Regions from separate parts of the Homo sapiens genome. Here region 2 is linked to region 1. The links are contacts of gene promoters, found by promoter capture Hi-C in blood cells and fetal thymus (Javierre and others, 2016). All regions are on one chromosome and are shown on one strand. The core of a region is centred on a gene start or on the middle of the fragment in contact, and the rest is flanking DNA. Distances in the headings are between cores, read along the strand shown.

What was found. The method cuts DNA at HindIII sites, captures the fragments that hold promoters and counts their contacts. A CHiCAGO score of 5 or more calls a contact.
Region 2: a contact is called between a fragment that was not itself captured here and the fragment with the promoter of ZFP2 in region 1, in 2 of 17 cell types (endothelial precursors and M2 macrophages). The highest score is 8.1, in endothelial precursors.

The regions. Positions count from the first base shown.
Region 1 is chr5:178,891,259-178,897,974 of GRCh38, reverse strand. ZFP2 (ZFP2 zinc finger protein) reads right to left here and starts at 2,062. Exons shown (of 5, transcript NM_030613.4): 1 at 2,001-2,062. RefSeq lists silencers at 1,820-1,869, 1,940-2,049 and an enhancer at 2,160-2,349. The HindIII fragment of the contact is 12,652 bases long and covers 1-6,716 here.
Region 2 is chr5:179,486,455-179,492,733 of GRCh38, reverse strand. It overlaps LOC124901224 (U4 spliceosomal RNA), which reads left to right and starts at 577; the gene lies at 577-719. The HindIII fragment of the contact is 5,384 bases long and covers 1-4,282 here.

The DNA.
Region 1 (6,716 bases), core at 813-3,312:
AATATTTAAGTTGTGTGTTACAACAACTAAGACTTTTTTAAAAAAGAATACTGATGAGAGACAACTTGCCCACCAGTATTCATAAAGCTACAAGAATTGGAACACAATATTACTGACTTATTTACCAGATACATTGTTGACCACCTACTGTATACTAGGCACCATTGCATGGGGTAGGGGTGGATACAGCTGTAAATAAAACAGATAAACTCTCCGCAATCATGGATGTTATAGCCGAACAGGGAAAAGCATCAATGGAACAAATTAAAATTCTACCAACCTAAATGGTTCAAATACACATGTATTTATGTATGTGTGTGTATATATATATTTCATTCAAGATATGAAATAAGTGACATTTCATATCAACGAAGAAAAAATTACTAAGTAACTTGTAACAAAGGCTTACCATTTGGAAAAAAATAAAAATGTACACAAAAAATGAAAGTACTAAGAGAAACTACAAACATTTTTGTAATCTCGTGGGACAGACAGCTTCTCTGCCAGTGATGTCAAACACCCAAACGTGAAGAAAAGGTTTTCATGTGTGACCATAAGAACCTGTGACGTTTCTGCACAGTCAGGAAACATGCTTATGTATCAGATACAAAATTAAAATACAAAATGCAAACTGCGTGAAAATATTCATTAGTGTTCAAAATGCAAATGTAAACAATCCTATCTTTTGCACCTCTCAGAAGTTCAAGAGAATACTAACATTCACAGTTGGTGTGGGTAAATCTGGCACTCTTACACTGCAAGTGTTTATATAAACTGCAACTTTTCTGGAGGGAATAAGACAGGAGGTATCAAAATCCTTACTGTACCCTGGACCTAGAAATTTCACTTTAAGAGATTTATAGAATAAGACAAAATGCAAAGATGTATGTAGCCAGATGGCCTATACTGTTTATAATACTGAAAAAAAAAAAGAAAAAAGAAAACCCTAACACAAAAACCTAAGGAGAGGATTCAATACGACACATCCATACTTTCCCTCACACTCATTAAAATGACGTAGCTCTATTTAAAATCTGGTATAAGTAGATGGTGTCAACATATTCCAATGTTTTTTTCAGATGTATTCTCTATCTTCATTGGGTGTTTAGGCCAGTAAAAAATTACAAGGCTTAAGATTTGTGCACTTCAAACCCCTTACCAAATGCATCTCATGACTCAGTTTTAAAAGATAGATGGAGAAAAAGCTGCTAATATTCATATTTCTGTTTAAAAACAAAGTACAAAGTGTTTCTATGCTTATACACATATCCACGCTGCCATGCAGATGGAGATAGATTTTGAATGATTGTTTTAATCTCAATTTTCCAGTTGTGCTACAGTGAAATCGCTTAAGGAAAAAAAGAAAAGATTCCCCGAGGTCGAAACCTGCACCAGGTTGGCCTCCCCATTCTTATTGTGAGATGGGAGGGGAGCCCACGCCAGCGCTCTCGGAATGAGATCCAGAGGGCGGGTCCGGAGACCCGGTTTACACAAAGGGCAGATGCTGCACAGGGAGACCCAGCCTCTGGCCCAGAATCCCCGGGATGTCCGCGGGTTAGGTTCGCTCCACGGTCGCAGCGTGTCCCGGGACAAAGCTGCGCGCGGCTGGGGAAAGCCAGGGAGGAACCCGGGTCCGAGCGACTCTTGGAACCTTGGGCCCCTCCCTGACCCGTGGTGGCCGGCGTGGCCCTTGTTCGAGCCCCCATCCCCGCTGCTCCGGGGCTGTGATTCCACCTCGGCGCCTGCCCAGGACAGCGCCGAAGGACACTCAGCTGCCAGCGTGCTCCCGCCGCCAGCTCCTGGGGAAGAGGGAGCGCACCTGGAGCCGGAGGCCCGGCGCTCCACAGGCGCAGTGAGGCCGCACCCCCGGCCCATCTGCTGCGGGCCCGCCCCTCAACCCTCAGGAAGCTGGGGCCTCGCCCCGCAATCCGGAGCTCCTCCTGCGGGGGCCTACAAGACTCACGGATGGCGCGCGCCCCCGCCACCGGCCCCGCACTCACCCTCTCCCAGCAGGAGCGGGAGCAGCGGCGACCGACACAGCCGCGACCGGCGCTTACAGCCCGGAGCGCCAGACTACATTTCCCACAAGGCTGCGGGGCTGCAGTGCGGCCAGGCCGTCGGCGTGTGCGAGAACGGGGCCCCAGAGGGCAAGGCTGTGCCAGTGGCCAGCTGAGGTGGCCCACGGTGTGGCCTCTGCAGGTCATCGGTGTGTCCAGGCGGGACGCGGGGTTCCCAGGCGGCCCCTTACCCCGGCTAAAGTCGTCTCTCTGGCCAGGCCTGCAATCTCAGCACTTTGGGAGGCGGGTGGGTGAATCACCTGAGGTCAGGAATTCAAGACCAGCCTGGCTAACATGGTGAAACCCTGTCTCTACTAAAAATACAAAAAAAATTAGCCAGGCGTGGTGGCGGGCACCTGTAGTCCCAGCTACTCGGGAGGCTGAGACAAGAAAATCACTTGAACCTGAGAGGCAGAGGTTGCAGTGAGCCGATATTGCGCCACCTCACTCCAGCCTGGGTGACAAGAGCAAGAGAGTGTCTTAAAAAAAAAAAAAAGGCATTAATTTACCAGCAAATAAAATATTTTAAACTTTTATGTATTTAATAACATAAGATACAAAATACATAAAGCAAACATGGGCAGAACCCATTTTTAATTTTGTTTTCTTTCTTTTTTGTACAGATGGGATCTTACTCTGTTGCCCAAGCTGGTCTCAAACTTCTGGGCTCAAGCAACGCTCCTGCCTTGGCCTCCCAAAATGCTGGGATTATAGGCGTCAGCCACCACCCTGGCCTCAGAGTTTTTAACCTACCTTCTCAGTAACTAATAGAAAAGCTGACAAAAAGGTCACTATAGATATGAAATATTTGAAAAGCAAAATTAGTTTTATGTTAATGAATAGACATGTAGACTACTCCACCCCAAAACTGAAGAAAACACATGGAAAAGCATATATTTACTTAAGAAATGATCTCATACTAGTCTGTAAAGTAGCCTCAACACATTTCAAGCAATTGGTATCACACAAGACCATATTCTTTGACAATGTAATTAAGCTAAACATTTTTTAAAAGACTAGAAACTTTTTAGAAAAGATTTAGGTAAAGGGAATATTTAGAGGAAATTTTGCAGCCTTCAAAGCATACAGTAAAGAAGAAAAGAAGGCAGATTGGGTACAACACATCTAATTTTGTTCCCTCCTAACACGTACTGATATAGTTCAGGACACACACACTCACTGCCAAAATATGGCACCTCATCATTTGAGAAAACAGCAGAAACAGGAAGGACTTTTCCACACATCTCCCACGAAGCAGGTTGTAAAACCTAGGAAGAATTTCCTAACGTCCCCTGAAGCAGGTCGTAAGATTCTCATGTGAGATTTGCACTCCCTATACCTGGAGGAAAGTAACATCTTTATTGCTGAAGACACACAGTCACAGAGAAAACTCTTGAACAAACAGGCCTTGCTAAGTTGCCCCCAGTGTATTACTATTAGATCATATCCTCTTTGTCCATTTATATTTCTCTGTGACTTCATCAAATTTAGCATAAAAATACACAACTTTAACTGTTTCTTTGGGACTTCATTTCCTTATGTAGGCTGCTGTGTCATGTAAAACTTGTATTAAAGAAACTTGTATGTTTTGCTCTTGTTAATTTGTCTTTTGTCTTAGGGGTCTCAGCCACCAACATAGGACGCGCAAGAAAAATGTATTTTGCCTCCTCTGTACCACTAAAAGCAAATGTAACAGATTGTTTGAAAACTTGTTAATTCACAAGGTCAGGAAAAACAAGTAAGGACACACCAGCAACATTTTAAATCTTGGAAACGGATGTTATTTTCTTGGCAAACCTGAAATAATGCCAAATCCCAGAGAGCTGTAAGAAAGGTAAAGGCCAGGCTGGGTACAGTGGCTCATGCCTGTAATCCCAGCACCCTGGGAGGCCGAAGTCAGGGGATCACTCAAGACCGCAAGTTCCAGGACAGCCTGGGCAACATGGCGAGATGCTGTCTTTACAAAAAATAAAGGTAGGAAGGAATGGAGTCTCTCTACTGTTTTGTGCAAATGTAGTCGGGTTTATGATCAGAACTGCTGTTATGTACAATGCTGCTAACCTCCAAGCCTTGGAGGGAAAAGGTTAAGGATGAACTTTCTGTTCTTGGGCACACAACCAAAAGGCCTGGACAATGAGAAACTTTTTCTGGACTGGTTCCACTAATGCTTTTGTCCGTGAAATCACGAAGTACCTTGCCAGTAAGGGACTGCCCTTGAATGTTCTTTTGATATTGGACAATGACCCTGGTCACCCAGAACCCATGAGTTCAATGTCAAAGGCACTGAAGTGGTCTACTGTATTAATATCAGATAATGTGGACTTTGTAGACAAAGAAAATTGAGACAGGAAAATTACATAATGATAAAAGGGCTAATCTACCAAAAAGTTATAGCAGTCAGTTTTTAATTTTTTAAAATGTTTCGTAGAGACAGGATCTACCTATGTTGCCCAGACTGGTATCGAACTCCTGGCCTCAAGTGATCCTCCCACCTCAGCCTCCAAAAGTGCTGAGATTACAGGCACATGCCACCATGCCCAGCTTTGTTGCTGTTGTTGTTGTTGTTTTTTGAGACAGTCTGTCGCTTTGTTGTCCAGGCTGGATGCAATCTCGGCTCACTGCAACCTCCGCCTCCCAAGTTCAAGCGATTCTACCTCACCTGAGTAGCTGGGATTACAGGCACTAGCCACTGTGCTCGGATAATTTTTGTATTTTTAGTAGAGACAGGGTTTCACCATGTTGGTCAGGCTGGTCTCGAACTCCTGACCTCAAGTGATCCACTTGCCTCAGCCTCCTAAAGTGTTGGGATTACAGGCGTGAGCCACTGCGCCCGGCCTAGCTTTGTTTTTTTCTTTCAAATTCTACAGCAGGCTTAAAAATGGTTTATGTTCAAACATTACAATACTAAGGGATTCTGTATCTATGTATTTTTTACCAGAGTCTTTATATTTTCATAGTTTCATGTTGTTATTACCTTTCAATTTAAAGAATTCCCTTTAGCATCTTTTTGAGACAGGAGTCTGTCACCCAGGCTACAGTGCGGTGGTGTGATCTTAGCTCACTGCAACCTCCACTTCCCAGGTTCAAGGGATTGTGCCTCAGCCTCCCACCTAGCTGGGACTACAGACGCCCACCACTACACGTGGATAATTCACATAATTTTAGTAGAGATGGGGTTTCACCATGTTGGCCAGGCTGGTCTCAAACTGCTGACCTCAAGTGATCCCCCCGCCTCAGCCTTCTGAAGTGCTGGGATTATAAGCATGAGCCACCTTACCCGGCCAGATCTCCATTTCTTTAGGGTTGGTTTCTGGAGGTTAGTTTCTTTTTATTGGGATGTGTTTCACTCTTTCTTTACAGCCTTGTGATCTTTTGTTGAGACTTGACCACTTGAAAAAAACAGTCCCCTCCAGCAGTCTCTAAGGATTGGCTTTGTGTAAAAGAAGACCGTCATCATTTAGCACAACTAGAGATTCTGGGATTGTCTCAAACTTTTTCTGGGGATGCTACTTCTCTGGGCTTGTGCACAGAATGAGGTTTTTGCCTGCTTCTTCTTTAGAGATTGTAACCTCTTGTTCCCCTTGCTGTCTGCAGTATTACAGTCTCTCTGGTGATGTAACAAGCTCCAGTGCTCACCTTTGTTCTCAGCAGCCCCCAATCTAGCATCCAAACTACTAATTCCAGTCAGTACTCTGAGTCTCATGAGACAAACCATGCCCTTGGAAAGCACCATGAAAAGCTAAAACACTGGATGCACAGCCCACTCTTCTTCCCTCCTGAGGGAAAAACTGGCAGCTGAGTGTTTTTTTCCTGATCACACCTTGCCACGCTAGGCAGTGGGAGTGGCTAGGGTGGGTAAAATGTCAAAAATTTTCTACCATTTTGATGTGTCTCTGTCCTTGCACTCACCTGGCGTGCTACAACTTCTTAGTGTCTAGAATTCTCACAAAAGCAATTTGTAGTTTGATGTTTAGCTGATGTGTCTGTGGGAGAACAAGGGACTAGGGCTTCCTATTCTGCCGATGTCATTTCCCTGGGTTAAAACTTATTTTACTTCAGTACTTGAAAAATGTTGTGCCTCTGTGGTTTCTAAGTGAAAAATCTGTTTTCATTAGATTTTTATCCCTATAGGTAAACTGTGATTTTTCTCTCTAGCCTCCAGTGTTTTTTTTGTTTGTTTTTTTGTTTTTGAGACAGTGTCTCACTCTGTCCCCCAGGCTGGAGTGCAGTGGCGCAATCTCGGCTCACTGCAAGCTCCACCTCCCAGGTTCACGCCATTCTCCTGCCTCAGCCTCCTGTGTAGCTGGGACCACAGGCGCCTGCCACCACGCCTGGCTAATTTTTTGTACTTTTAGTAGACAGGGTTTCACCGTGTTAGCCAGGATGGTCTCGATCTCCTGACCTTGTGATCTGCCCACCTCAGCCTCCCAAAGTGCTGGGATTACAGGAGTGAGCCACCAAGCCCAGCCTAGCCTCCAGATTTTCTTTTAGTTTTCCGAAGTTGAACTGTGATATGTTTTGGTGTGGATTCCTTGGATTCATGCTTCTAGAGGTTTGCTCAGCTTCTTGAATGTATAGGTTCATACCTATTGCTAAACTTGGGAATTTTCAGCCATTAATATTTCAAAGATTTTCTAGGCCCACTTTTTCTTCTCTCTC
Region 2 (6,279 bases), core at 341-2,840, 600 kb before region 1:
TATAAGCCCCGGGTTCTAGGCCCTGAATATAAGTTCTGTGTCCTTTCTGGTTATAAGCCTTGTGTCCTAGTCTCTGGGTATAAGCCCCATGTCCTAGGCCCTGGTTATAAGCCCCGAGTTCCAGGCCCTGGGTGTAAGTTCTGTGTTCTTTCTAGGTATTAGCCTTGTGTCCTAGGCCCTGGGCATAAACCTGTGTCCTAGGCCCTGGGTATATGCCCCAGGTTTTAGGCCGTGGGTATAAGCCCCAAGTCCTAGGCTCTGGATAGAAGCCCTGGGTTCTTGGTCCTGGGTATGAGCCCCATATCCTAGGTCACCAACCAGATTGAGAGCCCAGTCAAAGTTCTTTCTCATGGTGTGTCTAGGACGTCAGAAAACCTAGAGATGTGGCCGGACTCTGAGCCCCCTGAAAAGGGTTCCCAGACCTTTTGTGAGAGGGAGGCTTTGTCTGCCCAGAGCCCACCTAGTCTTGGAGTCTTGGAAGGCTGCCCGGCACCTCAGGTAGGCCTGTTTGCACCTCAGCCTCACCCTGGTCTGGGTATCCACTCCATACAGACATGTTTTTAAAAATTGAGGAATAGCTTTGTGCAGTGGCAGTATCATAGCCAATGAGGTTTATCCGAGGCGTGATTATTGCTAATTGAAAAATTGAGGAATAGTTTAGTAAAACACACAGATCTTAAATATATAATTCAATGGCTTTTTACAAATATCTATCTGTAGCCAACACCCCAATCAAGGCAGAAAACATTGCCACCATTGTAGAAAATTCCCCCCAATCCCTTTACAGTCTACTCAACTTCCCTTGTCCCCTAATCCCCAAGCAGCCACTATTCTGATTTGCATTCCAGAAAAGTAGTTTTTCTGGATTTTTTTTTAACTGACTTTCGCTCTTGTCGCCCAGGCTCGAGTGCAGTGGCGCAATCCTGACTCACTGCAACTTCCACCTCCTAGGTTCAATCAATTCTCCTGCCTCAGCCTCCCAAGTAGCTGGGATTAGAGGCGTGCACCACCACGCCTGACTAATTTTTGTATTTTTAGTAGAGACGGGGTTTCACCATGTTGACCAGGCTGGTCTTGAACTTCTGACCTCGGGTAATCCGCCCACCTCTGCCTCCCAAAGTGCTGGGATTACAGGTGTGAGCCACCGTGCCCAGCCTGGTTTTGAATTTAATAAATCTGTATGACATCCTTTGTATGGCTCCTTCAGTTCAAAACACTGTGTTTTTGTTGTTGTTGTTGTAGAGATGGAGTCTTGATCCATTGCCCAGCCTGCTTTCAAACTCCTGGGCTCAAGCAATCCTCTGCTCTTGGCCTCCCAAGTGTTGGGACTGCAGGTGTGAGTCATCGCACCAGCCAGAGTCCAATCGTGTCTCTAGTGAGAGCAGCCACTTTAATATAAAGGCTCAGGAATTCCTCCTCATGTTTGCTGCAGTGGCACTTGCCCTCTGAGTATCAGTTAGCTATTGTCACACTTATGCTGTGTAACAAACCATCCCCACATCTCAGTGGCAAACAGTAATAATCATTTATTTCTTACTCATGAGTTTGTGGGTTGGCTGGGCAGCTCTGCTCCACATGCCTCTCATCCTCTTCCTGGGACCAGCAGGGGCAGTTTCGTCTCTGGCTGATGGCAGGGCCCTGAGAGACGGCACATCTAACCCCACAAACACATTTCCAGTTTTGCTGTGTCATGCCTGCTGGCATCCCTTTGGCCAAGCCCAAAGTCAAGGGGTGGGAAAGGGAGGCTATGGCGAGGGTGTGAGTGTGGGTGAAAAACTGGGGCGGGTCATTCAATCTATGTTACCAGTTTCCTGACAATGTAAGTTAAGAGAAAGAGCTTTGTGGCTGACGCCTGTAATTCCAGCACTTTGGGAGGCCGAGGTGGGCAGATCACAAGGTCAGGAGATGGAGACCATCCTGGCTAACACGGTGAAGCCCTGTCTCTACTAAAAATACAAAAAATTAGCCAGGCGTGGTGGCGGGCACCTGTAGACCCAGCTACTCGGGAGGCTGAGGCAGGAGAATGGCGTGAACCCGGGAGGCGGAGCTTGCAGTGAGCTGAGATCATGCCACTACACTCCAGCCTGGGCGACAGAGCGAGATTCTGTCTCAAAAAAAAAAAAAAAAGGTAAAACTGGTTTGGTTTGCTAGTCCAATTATTTAGTGAATCAGTCCAGTTTATTAGAAATCCCAATGAGGTTGTTTTCAGAAGTGAGACAGGTCTGACCGGATCATTTGCAGAAAGCTCTGTTCTTGCTTTGGGACAGTCCTGCCCGCACTGGGAATGTGAATTTAATCGCCGTTCTCTCGCCGCTGCTCCTGCCCGCCTGGGACCAATTCCCTACCACACTGAGCTCATTGGAGACTTTAGTTTCATATTTTTAAGACCAGTTTAGTGCATCATCTCTGTCTTTATTTCTCCCTCCAGCACTTACTGTAGTTGATCTCTTTTATTTTCTTAGATTCTTTGGGGGGAGTTTATAGGTGGGATGAACCCATATATGCATGAAAATGTCTTTATTTTGCACCCCCAATTTAAGGCTAGATTGGCTGGGTCTTGGATCCTAGATTACGAATAGTTTTTTCTTTGGAATGTTAGAGAAATTGCTCTACTATCTTTTAGGATTCGGGATTGATGATAAGTCTTGATGTCAAGCTGACTTTCATTCTATTGTGACAACCTATTCTCTCGGTCAGAAAACTATGAGGATTTTCCTTTTTTCCTTGGTATTCCAAAATTTTGCTGCAATGTGCCTAGATTTCTAAAATTCCACTTTACTTTTTTTTTTTTTTTGAGATGGAGTCTTGCTTTGTCATCCAAGCTAGAGTGCAGTGGGGTGATCTCAGATCACTGCAACCTCCGCCTCCTGGCTTCAAGTGATTCTCCTGCCTCAGCCTCCCAAGTAGCTGGGATTACAGGTGCGCCACCATGCCAGGCTAATTCTTGTATTTTTAGTAGATAAGGGGTTTTGCCATGTTGGCCAGGCTGGTCTTGAACTCCTAGCCTCAAGTGACTGTCTCAGCCTCCCGCTTTATTTAATTAATTTATTTTGAGACGGAGTCTCTCTCTGTTGCCCAGGCTGGAGTGCAGTGGTGCAATCTCGGCTCACTGCAAGCTCTGCCTCCTGGGTTCACGCCATTCTCTTGCCTCAGCCTCCCGAGTAGCTGGGGCTACAGGCACCCGCCACCATGCCCGGCTAATTTTTTTTGTATTGTTTTAGTAAACACAGGGTTTCACTGTGTTAGCCAGGATGATCTTGATCTCCTGACCTCATGATCCACCCACCTCGGCCTCCCAAAGTGCTGGGATTACAGGCGTGAGCCACCACACCTGGCCATGAGTTCCCTGTCCTTCTCAGGGACAGGGAGTCAGTGATTCCTGGGGAGACTGTCTTTCTTCTCTGGACCAAGTATTCGCACTTTCTATATCAACTGGGGGCAAATGCTGTGCGATGCTGGTGACCTTGCTGATTTATTCCCAGAACATGATGCATTTCCTTCCCCTTTCTTTCCCTTTTGTGCTACTTCTAATTAAGGAAGATATTTCTGTCATTTATGGGATTTTGGTTCGGAGGGAGGTCAATCAGGGGTGCTTGTTCCTCCATCTGGCCCTGATCTGCGTTTTTAGCAAAACAACTGAGTTTGGAAGTTTGAAACTAATGACATTAGGGCTGGGAAATTTCTTAATGTAAATATATTTTAGCAGAGTTAATGAAAACTTGGAGTGCTTACAAAGTTGGATATCTTACATGTGTGACAAATTATATATAAACCAGATTTCATTTCCTGTTTTTTTTTTTATTTTTTCTTCTTTTTAATCAGCAAAGGAAAAATGGCAAGAAAACCAAGTCTCTTATCTTATAACTACACATTTTAGGGGAGAATGCATATTGAAACATTTTCAACATTTGCTGTTAAAATGAATACAATTTTACAAAAAGAACCCCCCCCCACACACACAAAGCATAAAGTTCTAGGCGATGATGAGCCCCTCATTCAGAAATGGTCCAGGCTTTGCCTCCGGGAGCCCGTTGGCCCCAGCCTGCTGCTGTTGGCAACCGCAGTGCCGTTTCCCTCACACATCTCTCATCACTATGGTGATTCTTGTTAAATAAAGTGAGCAGTCCCGATCATGTGCACTAGTGCCTTCTTCTGCGTTTAATCTGTGGCTGTCAGTTTCCACAACCCATCTATTCAATAAAGATTTGTTGATTATCTACTATGTGCTTGGGCCCAGTGACGCAAAGATGAATAGGACAAGATGCTTGCCCTTGAGGAAGCTTCATGTAGGGGAGAAGAGGCAGAACAGTTAGATTCCATGGATCCTCTGGCATTTGGAGTCCAACTTTACATGTTTTTGTGAAGTGACTGAATTTAACAATGTCTTATGCTTGTATAATTTTTCAAAAAATATGTTTAACTTTCAAATGGGAGATGCATGACATAGTTCAAACCATCAAAATGATATGAAAAGATATCCCCACCTGCTCATTCTCCTTCCCCCACCTCCCCCTCTAGGCAACCTTTTTCTTTGAGACAGTCTTGCTCTGTTGCCCAGGTTGGAGTGCAGTGGAGCGATCTTGGCTCACTGCAAGCTCCGCCTCCCGGGTTCACGCCATTCTCCTGCCTCAGCCTCCCGAGTAGCTGGGACTACAGGCACCCCCCACCACGCCCAGCTAATTTTTTGTATTTTTAGTAGAGACGGGGTTTCACCATGTTAGCCAAGATGGTCTCAATCTCCTGACCTTGTGATCCGCTCATCTCGGCCTCCCAAAGTGCTGGGATTACAGGCGTGAGCCACCACACCTGGCCATATATATATATATATGGAGTGTCGCTCTGTCACCCAGGCTGAAGTGCAATGGTGTGATCTTGGCTCACTGCAACCTCTGCCTCCCGGTTTAAGCAATTCTTCTGCCTCAGCCTCCTGAGTAGGTGGGATTACAGGCATGCGCCACCACGCCTGGCTAATTTTTGTATTTTTAGTAGAGACGGGGTTTCACCATGTTGGCCAGGCTGGTCTTGAACTCCTGACCTCAGGTGATCTGGCCGCCTTGGCCTCCCAAAGTGCTGGGATTACAGGCGTGAGCCACCGCGCCCGGCCGAGTCAGAATATTTCTAACCCTTTCTTATTTCCCAGTACCAACAAATATTTGCACCCTTTTTTTCAAAGTACTGTATTTGTTTTTGGGTACTATTAAAGTTTCTATTCGCAAAAGGAAAGCCACCCGTCAGTGGACAATGTGGTACACTTGCTGTGTGGTGTTCAGATGAGAACGCACTGAGGGAACTAAGTGTCGCAGGGGTGATGTGGAGGGCAGGCTGGCTGGGGTCCACATTCAAGCTGTCGAGCACCCGGAGGGAAGATCAGGGCCAGACTGTGAAGAACGTGAGCTGCCATGCACTCAGAGCTCTGGGTTTTTCCTGCAAGCAATGGGCAGCCACAGAGGGTTTCACAAAGGAGGAAGGAGGAGGCCAGAACTCCGTTAAGGCAGATGTGAATTCCAGTGGCTGTGAAGGATGGGGAAGAGACTGCAGTGATTCTGTAACTTTTAATTGCTCCATTTACCTGCTATGGTAGCACATGAATGCTACCACTCCTTACATGACATGGAGGGGCCTGGGGAGAAACCCTGGGGACGAGGAATCTCTCTACAATGCTTTCCGACTGCAAAGGTTGAGGGCCACTTTCCCACTGGCTTCCTCAAGAGCGGTCCTTGTCATCGCCATGCAGTGCATGTTGATTCAAACACTATGTGAGTCACTTCAGGCTCACAGAGCAGCTGGTGCCTCAGAACCAGGGCTCCGTATCCTCGAATCGAAGCGTGAGATTGTTTATCCCTTTCAAGGGAGCAAACCATTAGTGGGGCAATACCTTGTTCCAGACACGGTGAAGAGGGGGCGGCAGGGCTGAGAAGAGAAGCCCAGCTTCCCGAGGCTCTGCTCAGCTGCCTTCTGCCCACCCAGTGGCCCTGCCAGCTGTGTTCGTCTGGCTCCTCAAGCAGCGATGCTGTGTGCGGTTTCCATGGCAGTGGGCCCCGGAGGGCAGCCGGGGACACAGCCAGGTGGCTCGCAGCTCACCTGACTGGCTGTTGGCAGGAGGCAGGCGGCCTCCTTCTGCTCCTCTGTTCCTGGAGCTTTCAGAATGTCTTCAGTTACTCCCTTTAGGAGTCTGATCTCTGTGTGAGAGAAACTTAAAGTTCTGGGCTTATAAAGGGTACACTTTATCTCCGAGCGATTGCCTGGCAGTCATGCAGAATGCCAGGGCGGAAAAGTACC